2 separate regions of the Homo sapiens genome follow, and region 1 is linked to region 2. The links are contacts of gene promoters, found by promoter capture Hi-C in human tissues and cell types (Jung and others, 2019). All regions are on one chromosome and are shown on one strand. Each heading gives the region's core, a stretch centred on a gene start or on the middle of the fragment in contact. The rest is flanking DNA. Distances are from core to core; before and after follow the strand shown. Region 1 has its middle 32 kb from the start of LINC02252. Region 2 holds the start of ACTC1 (actin alpha cardiac muscle 1).

Region 1 (7,277 bases), core at 154-2,653, 110 kb after region 2:
TGGTGACCCAAGAAAGCAGGGAGGCTGCTGGATCCTTGCTGGGGAGAATGGAGGCAGCTACCTCCAGTTTCTATTGGCAACATTCTGAGTCCCACATCATGGCATCAGCAAAATGCAGCATCTATGGTATCTGTGCCATTTGTGCCTGTGGTGTCTTCATGGCACCAGCTCTGTGGTCTGCCCATCTCTTCCTCCTAGACATTTTATGAGCTAGCCAATATCCTCTTAACAAAATCCAATTCTGCTTAAATTGAAAAGGGTTTGTATCTATTATGAGTCACTTAGTGTTCTAATGGTTTACTTAATTTTACACATACCTTTTTCTATGTCACAGCACTTTACAAATATTAATCATTTCATTCAGCTCAGATGCCAAGTCTCTGGAGTAGAAAATATTATCCCCATTTTATACAAACGGAAACCAAGGTCCAGAGAGGATACTTAGTTTGCCTTAGATAACTCAGTTGGTAAGTGCAGAACTGGTATTCAAATCCAGGCTGTCCATGCTCTTAACCATTCTTTTCCCCTGATCCCCAGAGAGATCTTTCCCCATTATCTTCTCTTGCAAATCCCCTCTCCCCACCACTTCTCTCTGCCTTCATGCTTGGGCATTCCCTATCCTGTAATGAAAGAAAGAAAGAGAGACAGAGAGAGAAAGAAAAGAAAGAAAGAGAAAGAAAGAAAGAAAGAAAGAAAGAAAGAAAGAAAGAAAGAAAGGCAAATTTCATGCAGAGTAACAAAGGTAGGAATGACAATTGATTTCTTTTCAATAACAACACAAGTGAGAAAACAGTGGAGCAACATCATTTAAGAAATGAAAGTAGAAAGCTCTCAACCTAGACTTCTACACCCAGTGAAAATATTCTTTGAAAATGAAAGTAAAATAAAGGTCTTTTAAGACACATAAAAGCTGAAGATAATTATTACCAGCAGACCTGTCTATAAGAAATGTAATGAAAGTCCACTGTATTAGTCTGTTCTCACGCTGCTAATAAAGACATACCCGAGACTGGGTAATTCATAAAGGAAAGAAGTTTAATAGACTCACAGTTCCACATGGCTGGGGAGGCCTCACAATCATGGCAGAAGGCAAGGGAGGGGCAGAGGCGTGTCTTACATGGCAGCAGGCAAGAGAGCCTGTGCAGGGGAACTGACCTTTATAAAACCATCAGACCTTGTGAGACTTATTCACTATCATGAGACCAACACAGGTAAAACCCATTCCCATGATTCAATTACCTCCTACCAGGTCCCTCCCATGACATGTGGGGTTTATGGGAGCTACAATCCAAGATGAGATTTGGGTGGAGACACAGCCAAACCATATCATCCATCGAGTAGAAGAAAAATGCTACCTAATGGAAATATGAAAATACACAAAGAAATGAATAGCACTGGAAAAGATAACTAACTACATATGTAAATACGTAAGATTTGTTTCTTATCATTTAAATCTTTAAAAAGATAATCATACTGGTTTGCTAGGGCTGCCAACAAAATACCACAGTCTGGGTGGCTTAAACAACAGCAATTTATTTTCTCACAATTCTAGAGGATAGAAGTCCAAGATGAAGGTGTCAGCAGGTTTAGTTTCTTTGGAGGCCTCTCTGCTTACAGACAGCCACCTTCTTGCTGTTTCCTGTGTATGTACGCATCCCTAGTGTCTCTGTATCCAAATTTTTTCTTCATATAAGGACATCAGTCCAACTGGATTAGGACCCACTTTAATGGTCTTGTTTTATTTTAATCACTTCTTTAAAGACTCTTTCTCTAGATACATTCTGAGGTACTCGGGATTAGGGCTTCAGCAAATACATTTTTTATGGGGAAGGAGGTACACAATTCAGTTTATAACAATAATTAAATGTTTAAACACAATAATAACTATGTAGTATGGAGTTTAAAAAATATAAAGAAGAAAAATCTATGATAAAATTGCACCAGGGCCTGGAAGAAAAAAAGTATATACTTGAAAGGGTCTTATACTTCATATAATACCACATGAAGGTAGGCTATGATAAGATGCATACTATAAAATCTAAAGCAACCTCTAAAACAAACAAAACATTGTAGCTATTAAGTCAACCAAAGATATAAATGGTGCCATAAAACTACTCAACTACTCCAAACTAAAGCAAATAAAAAGGAAAACAGGAAATAAATTACAGACAGGACAAATAAAAAATAGCAAGGTAGGAGATTTAAATCTAATCATATGAATAATCACATTAAATATAAATGATCTAAGCACCCGAATTAAGAGGCAGAGACTGTCAAATTGAATAAAAGAAGCAAGATCTAACTTGCTCCCTATAAGAAACTTAGATTAAATAAAAACACACAAATAAGCTAAAAGTAAAAGACGGGAAAAATATACTATGCTTCTCTCTATTAAAAAAAATCTGGAAGGGTCATATTAATATCAAACAGAGTAGATTTCAGATTCAGATTTCAGAGACAAGATTATTTTATAATTTTAAAAGAATCACTTAATCAAGAGGACATCACAGTCCTAAATGTTTATGTACGTTAATAATAATGCTTCAAAAGACAGGAAACAAAAAATTTGATAAAATTTCAAGGAGGAATAGATAAATTCACAATTATGTTTGTGGATGCTAAAGAAACTCCGTCTTGAAGAGTAAACCACTATGTTGGGTTCTGATTAACCCGTTCCAGGAAGGGCTCTAAGACTTCCGGTTAATCTATTGTTCCTGTGTAACAGCAGGTACTTACCATAAATCCTGCCTTTATGTCAAGTAACCTTGATGCTATCATACTTCAATTGTCCTACACATCCCTTCTGAACCACTCCTGGTATATAAGTCCTGGGTCTGGGAGGTCTTGGTTCAGGGATCCACCATCTTGTTTTGTTGCCACCCTAGACACAGACATGGCTTCTGTTCTTAATTCCTTATTAAATATGACTTTCTTTTCTTTTTTTCTTTTCTTTTTTTTTTCTCAGACAGAGTCTCACTCTGTCTCCCAGGCTGGAGTGCAATGGCGCGATCTCGGCTCACTACAAGCTCTGCCTTCTGGGTTCACGCCATTCTCCTGCCTCAGCCTCCCAAGTAGCTGGGACTACAGGCACTCACCACCACGCCCGGCTAATTTTTTTTGTATTTTTTTTTTTTTAGTAGAGACGGGGTTTCACCGTGTTAGCCAGGATGGTCTCTATCTCCTGACCTCGTGATCCGCCTGCCTCGGCCTCCCAAAGTGCTGGGATTAAAGGCGCGAGCCACCGCGCCCGGCCTTAAATATGTGTTTCTAAGAAACTGCGTTCCTTAGCCTCTTTCTTCAGCCTTTTTGCTTCCTAGATCTGTGCAAACCTGCCTTCTGTGAAAGTATAGCCCTCTCTCAATTACTGATAGAATAAGTAGACAGAAAATCAGTAAAGATATAGAAATTTTAAACAACACTATTAACATCTTTACCTAATTGATATTAATAGAATATGCCAACCACCTAATAATAGTGCATATTCTGAGATATAAAGCAAGTCTTAATAAATTTAAAATGGCTCAAACCATACGAAGTATGTTGTGAACACAAAGAAATTAGTATCAGAAAGATCTCTGGAAAATCCCCAAATATTCGAGAAATAAATATGTAGTTCTGAGTAACTCACAGGTTAAAGAAGACATCAAAAGGGAAATTCAAAAGTATTTTTAATTGGGTGAAAATGAAAACACAGCATATAAAAATTTGTAGGATGTCCCTAAAAATAAAACTCAGGGGAAAACACAACTCTGAAAAGAAGAAATGTGTTAAATCAATGCCCCCAGTTTCCACCTTAAGAAAATAGAAAATAGAGGGCAAATTACACCCGAAGTAGATTGAAGTACAGATATAATAAAAAATTAAAGTAGAAATTAATGGAATATAAAATAACCAAAAAATTAATAGCAAAATTTAATAAAACCAAAAGTGATTCTTTGAGATATCAGAATAGATAAACCTCTACTCAGACTTATTAGGGAAATAAAGGAGACAGGAAGGAAGAAAGAGGGTGGTGGCAGGGAGGGAGAATTGTGTGTGTGTGTGTGTGTGTGTGTGTGTGTACGAGTGTGTGTATGTATGTGTGTGAGAATCCTTGGAAGACAAGTTGTATCTACCTGGACTGAACCATTTATCCATCCACTCGTTCATCCAATTGATCAACAATTTTATTCTAAGAATATATCATGTACCAATCTCTGTTCCAGATGCAGAGACAGTCACGGAACAAGATATATGAGATCATTTCTCTCACAGAGCTTATGTTTTAATAGAGGGTAGGGATAGTGGTTGGAAAAATTAGAGAAAAATATAATCAAATAAAACAGACAACATTTAAGTGGGGACTTGAACAACAAAGAGTCAATCATGTAAAGATTTGGGGAAAAGCATGTCAGGCAAGGGAATAATCAGTACAAAGGCCCTAAGGTGAAAATAAGCTTGACAAGAAAAATGGCCAGCATCACTGAAGTATAGTAAATAAAGTGACTGGAAGTATGACTGCAACTATGTTGTAATCATTCCCAAAATTGGATGGAAAGAAAGGCAAGGGCAAGAGCAGGAAGGGTTTTATAAGCCAGGGTAAGAAGTTTGAGTTTCATTTCAAGCATGATAAGAAGTCATTAGAAAGTTTTAGATGAGGGGAAAAGCGTGACCTTGTTAAAATTCTGAAAATACACTGGAAAATGGAAAATGAGTTTTAGTGGGGGAAGAATAGAAGCTGGAAAACCAGTCCAGGTGAGAGATGATGTGGCTTGGAGTAAGGTGGTAGCACCAGATGGAGAGGAGAGAAGTAGACATATTCACGATGTGTACTGGAAGTACTTACATATCTCTATGATGTATTCTTGTTAATCAGAAACATTTCATTGCTCTGCTCTATATGTCTTATATTCATCTGACCACAGAGGCTGGGACACAGACTTAGAATAACATATGTGAAATCTCAGCTCTCAATGTCAAGGTTCTACCTATAGAATTGATCTGTATATACAAAAAGAAAATTTCAATAAGTTTCCTTGGCAGCATTCTTTTAAAAATCCATTATACAACCTCCAAAAGGGCATCTGCAGGCAGTTCCATATGGACAGTCATGGCAGTGCAATAGAATCCTTTTAGCACTGCTGTTGGGCAGGGTGATCGTGTCATATTTCACTTTCACTAACTGGCTTTTCACTTAGGGACCCAAATCTTGGAAAACAACAACAACAACAACAACAACAACAACAACAACAACAACAACAACACTAGAGATGCTAAAGCTAGCTATAATCTGGCCCCATCCTACTTCTCCATATTATTTCCTACTATTCCACAGCATACTTCTCCCCATCTAATTCAGTTGTCCTCTTTACTGTCCCATCAATACATTGAACTCCTAGTAATAGCTTATGAGGAGTAAAACTTATAATAACATGAGTTTCAAAACAAATGATAAAGATTATCACTTAATGAATATTTATTGTATGCCAGCCACTGTTCTTAGCACTTTACCTGCATTACCTTGTTCATTCTTTAAAACGATGCTATGGTGTAAGTACTAATATTATTTCTCATTTCCAGGTGAGGAAACTGAGCTTTGCTAAGTTGAATAAACTGCTCTGGGTAACAAAATTGGTGGTAGTCCAGGAATTCTAACTCAGATCTGTCTCCAAAGACCAAGCTTTTCACCATATTGTAGTGATTCTTACCACGCCTTTCCCCATTTTTTTTTTTTTTTTTTTTTTTTTGAGACAGAGTCTCTGTTGCCCAGGCTGGAGTGCAGTGGCACGATCTTGGCTCACTGCAATCTCGACCTCCAGGGTTCAAGTGATTCTCCTGCCTCAGCCTCCTGAGTAGCTGGGATTACAGGTGCACACCACCACATCCAGCCAATTTTTGTACTTTTAGTACAGACTGGGTTTCGCCATGATGGCCAGGCTGGTCTCGAACTCCTGACCTCAGGTGATCCACCCACCTTGGCCTCCCAAAGTGCTGGGATTATAAATGTTAGCCACTTGGACTGGCCCCCATATTTTTTCTGCATATGAATTGTTATTCCCTTTTTTCTCAAACCTCACTCATTCTTTATGACCTGAACCAAATCACACTCCTTCCATGAGCCTTCTCTGGTGACTCTGGCCTTGCTGATCAAACTTTCATCTGAAATCCTGTTAAATTCAGAGACTACGTTACTACTCAGTAGAAAAACAGACATGTATAACCTATATTGTATTTGTCTTCGTTTCCTGTGAGTTAGCCTCATCTCCCAAACAGGACTTGAGCTACCCGCAAACTGGTAGGCTATAGCCATTCCTTGATCCCACCAAGTCATGACAATATCTGGAGAAAGGAAAGGGGCCACCTCTTTCTGTGCCTCTTTTCTAGAAATGAGGAAACTTCTTTTGTAACTCCTCCAATGGACTTTACCTCACACCTTATTAGCCAGAATTGAGTTAAATGGCCTTTCTCAAATCATACAAGGGAACTGGAATTACCATGGTGGGCTGCAGAACTGGGGGTTAGGTCATCTTCCAAGTCATCAATGGTGATGATGAAGCAGGTGAGATCTTCAAGCATTAAAAAAAAAAAAAAGGAAGAAGGGGGAACAAAGGTTGTGTAAACAGCCAGTGTTCTGGAAGTTCTTGTGCAGGCTTGTAAGTGCCTGTTGTTAAATTCAGAAATTTTTAATGCTGGTAGATAAACATAGTCATCATCAAAACTTAAATTAGGCTAGGCGCAGTGGCCCACACCTGTAATCCCAGCACTTTGGAAGGCCGAGGTGGACAGATTGCTTGAGCCTAAGGAGTTTGAAACCAGCCTGGGCAATATAGTGAGACTTCATCTCCATGAAAATTTGCAAATTGGCCAAGTATGCGCCACTGCACTCCAGCCAGGGTGACAGAGCTGAGACCCTGTCTCAAAAATACAAAAAAAAAAGAAAATTTAAATTGTATTAAATACTTACAATAAAGTATGCTAAAGATAACACTCAAAAGTCATCACTTTCTAATGATTTTTACACATACTATTATCTATGCTCTTGATGCTATTTATGGTTGTGTATATGTGTTGGAAAATACTATAGAATAGTCAGCTATTGCACATCTCTTCCAACTCTGTGTTCAGTGACATCACATTGGCCTTTTTTTTTTTTTTTTTTTTTTTTGAGATGGAGTCTCGCTCTATTGGAAGGCTGAAGTGCAGTGGTGCGATCTCAGCTCACCGCAACCTTCGCCTCCCAGATTCAAGCAATTCTCCTGTCTACATTGGCCTTTTGAAAAAGTTATAGTGCAAATATT
Region 2 (7,264 bases), core at 1,810-4,309:
GGGTTCAAAGTTTTTAAAATGTGGAAATCAAGGCCAGGCTTGGTGGCTCATGCCTGTAATCCCAGCACTTTGGGAAGCTGAGGCTGGCAGATCAGTTGAGCCCAGGAGCTTGAGACCAGCTTAGGCAACATAGTGAAACCCCGTCTCTTCAAAAAATACAAAAATTAGCGGGGTGTGTTGGCATGTGCCTGCAGTCCCAGCTGTTTGGGAGGCTGAGATGGGAGGATCAGCTAAGGTGGGAGAATCGGCTAAGGTGGGAGGATCACCTGAGCCTGGGAGGTTGAGGCTGCAGTGAGCCCTGATTATACCACCGCACCTGATTATACCTGGGTAACAGAGGGAGACCCTGTCTGAAGCAAACAAACAAATACATAAAAATAAAATAAATAAAATGTGGAAATTGAGTGGTAATACAAATAGTAAATATCAAACAATCATAAATTTTTAAGAAATAAGCATTCGTTCTTGCTACACACATAACACATATGAAAATACACTGTTTTGAGTGTTAGGCAATGAAATTGAGCGGAATAGGAAACACATTTTTCAAACATTTTAAGGGTGAATATTGTTTCACAAAACTGCTGTTGTGTCCTGCACTGTTCTACTGGCCTCCCACTAGAGCCAATGGTCCTGAGATGAGGGGGCTGGAAGTGGCCTCCTAGATCCCCGAAGCCTGTGCGAAGGACAAAGGTCAATAATCATGGTTTTCCATTCCTGAGAGTCTTTGCACCTATAGCAGTCATAGTGGGAGTCTCTCACCAGCCACTCCCATGCAGAAACTCTTTCTCTCACACAAATGTTCATAAACTTCAGTTCTGCTCTACTTTTAAAAACGAACAACACATCCTGGGGAAGGCTTTCTCGGCAACTCTTTCAGACCTCCATTCCCTTTTTGTGACTATCCTGCTGATACCTCTTCTTCCCTCCCAGTTTGTGCCATAGCTGTCTGACTTTTCTGTAATTGCCACGGAGGATGAGTCCTGCTCTGTTTTATTTATCACTGAATCCTTAACTAGCACAGTTCTTGTCCTGCAAAGATTTGCTGAATCAATGAAGAATGAAATCAACCTGATTCTTTAAAAGGCAGAGCTACTACTGCCTCCAAAAGTATCATTATTACACATACAATTTGCTTTGTATCTTCCATATTACTTACAGCATTTGTTTCTAACTATTACAATACACAATAACTTCTGCAACAAGTGTTATGGTATCACTTTTGAGAGGGAAAACTTGGGGCTTGGGAAGGTTAAGTGTCTTGCTCAAGACCAAACAGATAGTTAGTAAGTGATAAAGGCAGCATTTGAGCCCAGTTCTGTCTGGCTCTGACACCAGTCCCATTTCTCCTTTTCCTTGGTTTTTCTATATTTTCACGAGACAAGGCAGTTCTACTCTTGGCATCCTGTCAATAAACATTTTCACTGTAAAATGCCTGCTGTGCTGCACAGAGTAATCTCAGCCAGGTCTCTTACCCGACCCCACCACACAGCTGCCCATCGCGTTTCTTCTCCAGACCAACCCAAACATGGTTGGGGAGTTCAGAGGGGAGGGCCCAGCATTCCCCAGTCGGGACAAGTATCTAATCAGCAGGCCTCCTCAGCATATCAGCCCAAGACCACTCTAGAGAGAGATGCCAGTGCCCAGTTTTCTATTTTTAACTGGTGTGAACTGGAGGAAAAACACAAGCATTAAAAATCAAAGCTCCAGTCAAGAACTGAGAATGCAGGGCACCCCAGGGCAAACTAGTGATCTGTGTCCTTCTTACATCTCCCTCTTCCTTCTCCCTCTCCTCATTTCATGTCATTTTTCTTTTTCCTTCTCAAAAGTTCAAGATCCTGCAAAATCTGTTTTCCACAGAGGAGATGATATCTGTCATTTATGCCAATGCTTCTCACACTTTAATGTACATACCAAGCAAATGAGGATCTTGCTGAAAAGCGGATTGGGATGGCTCTTGAGATTGCATTTCTAGCTCATTTCCAGGTTATGACAATACTGCTTGTCCATGGGCTGCACTTTGAGTAGCAAGGATTGGTGTAGTCCTATAGTTTAAGTTGTTGCTATGTTCTCCATCAAAGTATTTGCCTTTGCAGTCTTGTCTCCACCTGGAGTGAGGGCCTCTGCCCCCAGTTTAAAGATGCTCATCTCCCCACCATCAAGTGGGCAAGCTACTTTTGGCATTTGTTCCTTTATTCACTTTGGCAGCAGGGGATCCTTTTCTGGCCTGAAGACCAGAGTCTGAATTTGAGCAAAACCCTGCAGCATGGATGAGGGCTACCCAATAACTGGGCTGGGGTAAACCTGGTCCCTTCTCCAGCAAGACTTGGCCAAGCTCTCACAGAAACCCTTTTCTGACTCTTCCCTGGCCAGACCCTGATCCATGCATGGGTTGGAACTCGGGTGGCCTTGGTTAATCTCAGCTTTCTGACCTAGATGAGCCCAGCACCAGCTCTCTGAGTAAAGCCATTCAGGCTGGCGGGGACTAGACCAGAAGGGTGCCCTGTCCTGGGTGCCCCTTTTGCAGCCACTCAGATGTGCTGCTGCGGTGTCCTTTGTGCTGGTGGCAGCCCTGGAAGATGAGAAGCCGCTGTTGCTCCCCTGCTGCCCTGGCCCAGCTGTCAGGACCCCTCAGCAGAGGGCAGGGCGCCAAGCCTTCCCACTGCATGTGGCTTATTGTCCCCAAGGCTGGCAGGGCTGCGGAGGACCGAATCCACAGACCATCCAGGGAGCACCCACACCCCAGAAAGGGGGAGGGGTGGGCTGGCGTCACTTAGTCTTCCCCTGCCCCCTACCCTTCAGCGCCTGCCCCTCCCCAGCTCCCTATTTGGCCATCCCCCTGACTGCCCCCTCCCCTTCCTTACATGGTCTGGGGGCTCCCTGGCTGATCCTCTCCCCTGCCCTTGGCTCCATGAATGGCCTCGGCAGTCCTAGCGGGTGCGAAGGGGACCAAATAAGGCAAGGTGGCAGACCGGGCCCCCCACCCCTGCCCCCGGCTGCTCCAACTGACCCTGTCCATCAGCGTTCTATAAAGCGGCCCTCCTGGAGCCAGCCACCCAGAGCCCGCTGCCGCCGGAGCCGAGCCGACCCGCCCCGCCGACGGTGAGTCAGCGCCCGGCCCTCCGCGTTCACTCCTCGCCTGGTCCGCGGGCCGCGCCGGACGCCAGCCCCGCGCCGCCACCTGGCCAGCCCGGCCCGCATTCAGCCAAGGCCCCAGCTCCTGCCGCTCTGCGACTGCCTTTTTTTTTTTTTTTTTAAAGCCCACACTTTTTGATTTGGTTCTAACTTGTTTTGTCCTGGGCGTTGGTCCTCGCAGGACCTCGCAGGGGCTCTAAGAAGGGGAATTTTGTGGCTCCCCAAGGGGCTTTTGGGTCCCTACTCTCGTGCGCTTTCCCCTCCATCTGGGGCACAGGCATGGCGATATGGACAGGGCTGGAGATCGAGTTCCCAGTTCGTGAAAAGGAAGAAAGTTAAAGGGCTGGGGAGGACTAAGGGGCTGGGTTTCTTGGGTCCCTCCTTGCACCTGGCACCCTAGCTGGAACTCCTGGCCAGGGAGCCTGGGTGGATTCCTCTGCCCTTCTCTGTCCCCAGTCTCCTCCGCGGCTTCTTCCCTCCCTTTTATGATTCGAGGGGAAGGGAGGTGGCAGGAGTGTTCCCCGCCCAACCCCCTGTCCAGTCCCCACAACCCCCTTCTGCTCTGTCCTGTCCTCTGGGTGCGGAGAAGGCCAGCTGCACAGGCAGCTAAGCGTGGTCCGCCCTCCCCTCCTCAACCTGCAGAACCCCCTGAAGCTGTGCCAAGATGTGTGACGACGAGGAGACCACCGCCCTGGTGTGCGACAACGGCTCTGGGCTGGTGAAGGCCGGCTTTGCGGGCGATGACGCGCCCCGCGCTGTCTTCCCGTCCATCGTGGGCCGCCCGCGGCACCAGGTAAACTTCCCGCCGAGCCCCCCGTCCCACTCGGGACCCCTTCAGTCCAGCGATCTAGGAAATGGCTCTCACCTGACCCTCTTGTTCGATGAACTCTTTAGGCCAAATTAAGAGAAGGCTGATTGACTTCAAATCCAAGCCAAGGCAAGCAATACTCCACAAAACCCCAACATACTGAGGAATGTACACCTGAGTGGCACGCCTCTAAAAGGGTCCCACTCCCTGGTGTGAAAGCCACCTGCTTCTCTCCACTAATGGCCTTTTGGACTTTTAGTCTTTAGTGTCTTCTCTGCCTTATACACTTCATTTTCTTCCTTGTCCTCTCTTTTCAGTCCTGTTTAAAACTTCTAACAATATCACCTCTCCCAACCAACCAGGACCAAATCCACATTCCTCTCTCATGTTCACAGCCAGTTTACAGGGTTCCCCAAAGGTGTAATCAATCTATCTCCTTCCTGGCTGTTGCATTTTTAGAAGCCAGGCGTGACAGAGGCAGCAAGTGCCATGGTGATAGTGACATACCACCTCGTTTGTTAAAAGACATGCCATGCTCTCTGGGTTTGTCACATGCCTGGCCAGACAGGCTGCCAAGCAGGAGAGCTTAGTCCTCAGAGCTGGTGAATGACTCCAGAACAGCTCTGGACAGGCTGAATTTCACTGTTGGAGTGAGGATGGCATATCAGCCCATCATTATGTGTTCACTTGAATGTCAAAATCTTTTTCTTAGGAGAAATACAATGTGTCATTAATTCAGTCATTCCAAAATGCAGTCATCTATATTCCAGTTGACATGGGTGATGAGCTTAATAACTTAATGAAGGCATATGATATTTTTAAGGTGAGGTGAGGCTCTGCTTCTTCAGTGGAATAGCTTCATTCTCTCCTGAGTTATATTCTCAACAATAGAATTATACATCTTTGGGGGAGTGGGGAGAAGGTAGAAGATTGATTTTTAAATAATTCTTCTAAATTGGGGTAAAATCGTATTGCTTGTTATTTCTGGTATTTAAATATGTTCCTTGACTTGGGCAGTTAGATATAAATGGACAAGACACTGATTATATTCCTGACATGGTGAGAGCATGATTTTCTCATTTTTTCTTCTCATAGGGAGTTATGGTGGGTATGGGTCAGAAGGACTCCTACGTAGGTGATGAAGCCCAGAGCAAGAGAGGCATCCTGACCCTGAAGTATCCCATCGAGCATGGTATCATCACCAACTGGGACGACATGGAGAAGATCTGGCACCACACCTTCTACAATGAGCTCCGTGTGGCTCCCGAGGAGCACCCCACCCTGCTCACAGAGGCCCCGCTGAACCCCAAGGCCAACCGGGAGAAGATGACTCAGATCATGTTTGAGACCTTCAATGTCCCTGCCATGTACGTGGCCATCCAGGCAGTGCTATCCCTGTATGCTTCTGGCCGTACCACAGGTATGCTGGGCTCTGGGGACAGTTACTGATGAATCACATTCCCAAGTCACCGACCTTGCTGTGAATCAGATCCCCCAGTTGAAAAAGGGATAATCCCTTTCCTCCCATTCCCTAGCAAGGTCTGTGCTAAGAGAAAGAGTTAACAGTAGTGCCCTGAGGTTAGTTTCGGAGCACAATTATTGTTGGAGCTGATAGCTTGTGGAGATAGGTCCTTCCCTCATTTAAAGCTCAGCGCAGTGTAGCAGCTTGGAGTGCAGCAGTCATTGTTATGTGTTTAAACCATCACATCACCTGGGCAAGCATCCCCAAGGAGAATACATTCCATACAGGGTCTGAGTCAAAAGAGAGAGAAACGTGTAAGTTCAATAGGAGCAAAGAAAAACACCCTTGGGTGCTTACATAATGTGCTCGTGGCTGACAAGAAAGATGGTCATTTGAAAGTGTCCTCGGGAATTTTTTCTACTATAATAGTTAAAAAGATGAGCTGCAGTTTGCTTCAGATTTAGTATTCCTGATGCGCATTTTTATTCTTTGTGTGTAAGGAATCTAATTTTATCTGGATCAATGCCCATTGCTAGCATCTCTTAGCCAAGATTGGAAGCGGGCTTTGCCGTGGCTAGAGCAGTGGTGTTGTCCTCAGGAATTTACCTTGTTCTTGTCTACTTCCCCGGGCAGGCATTGTTCTGGACTCTGGGGATGGTGTAACTCACAATGTCCCCATCTATGAGGGCTACGCTTTGCCCCATGCCATCATGCGTCTGGATCTGGCTGGTCGGGACCTCACTGACTACCTCATGAAGATCCTCACTGAGCGTGGCTACTCCTTTGTCACCACTGGTGAGTGTGTGTGTCTCATCTGCCACAGTGTGGGTCTGCTTTCCTCCTCTCTCACTGAATCCGCCTACCTCCCTATAATTGACTTCTTGCTTCAGAGCATGACTGTGATACTCTTTATTTCTGTAGCTGAACGTGAAATTGTCCGTGACATTAAAGAGAAGCTGTGCTATGTCGCCCTGGATTTTGAGAATGAGATGGCCACAGCTGCCTCTTCCTCCTCCCTGGAGAAGAGCTATGAACTGCCTGATGGCCAAGTCATCACTATTGGCAATGAGCGCTTCCGCTGTCCTGAGACACTCTTCCAGCCCTCCTTCATTGGTGAGTTGTAGGGTCTGGTGCAGAGGCACGATTTTCCCTGGAAATCTTAGGGTCTCCCAGAGTAAAATCTAGAAGGCTCAAGAAGCCCTTGAGTTAAAAGAAGTCATAGTTTGGATTCCCACACAGCTCAACCTCAAGTCCTGATGGCTCATTAAAGGGGAAGTCTATGTTCTGCTCTAGTGATATAATAAAGGATGACACACTGAGTTCATCTCAAAATAAAGGATGACACAGAGTAGTAACTGAATAGCACGTATCTGCAGGAAAAGGGCTAGTTCACAAGAGCTGACTTATTCCCGTAAGTTTCACTACCAAGTAGCTGGACTTTCCAAGTTCCTCATCATTAAATGCAATAACATTCCTACTCATATTAATAACTGGGCACTTATATGTCAACAAATATCCTTCCTAAGCAATGCTTTCCATAAGGAACTTTGTCAGGATCTGATTTAAGTCCATAAACAAAAATTACATTCATTTTAGTTTAAACGTGTATCTTTTCCTTTTCCAATACATCTTCATACATCTGAGAGTTTCAGGAGGTGTTTACTTGAAACAGGTGCTAAGCACAGTTGCTCCTTTCTTGGCATTGTATTGTGGATTAACTGTGAGGCACCCATTCCACCCTGCAGTGTGTCTTATAGGGGAACATATGTTTCAGAGACAAATGGTGACAGCTCCCCCACACAAAGAAGTTCTGTTCTCTTCCCTCTACCTTGACCTGAATGCACTGTGATGTGTGTGTG

The links. The method cuts DNA at HindIII sites, captures the fragments that hold promoters and counts their contacts. A contact is called where the count stands out against the background at its distance.
Region 1: a fragment that was not itself captured here is called in contact with the fragment with the promoter of ACTC1 in region 2 in 2 of the 25 tissues and cell types used here (aorta and stomach).

What each region holds. Positions count from the first base shown.
Region 1 is chr15:34,683,856-34,691,132 of GRCh38, reverse strand. No RefSeq gene overlaps it. Among named protein-coding and RNA genes, the nearest start is that of LINC02252, 32 kb to the right of the region's middle. The HindIII fragment of the contact is 7,290 bases long and covers 1-5,048 here.
Region 2 is chr15:34,791,344-34,798,607 of GRCh38, reverse strand. ACTC1 (actin alpha cardiac muscle 1) reads left to right here and starts at 3,059. Exons shown (of 7, transcript NM_005159.5): 1 at 3,059-3,102; 2 at 3,778-3,928; 3 at 5,039-5,363; 4 at 6,039-6,200; 5 at 6,327-6,518. The coding sequence starts at 3,800. All of the region lies in intron 2 of GJD2-DT (GJD2 divergent transcript), which reads right to left. RefSeq lists an enhancer at 1,441-1,912. The HindIII fragment of the contact is 17,333 bases long and covers 1-7,264 here.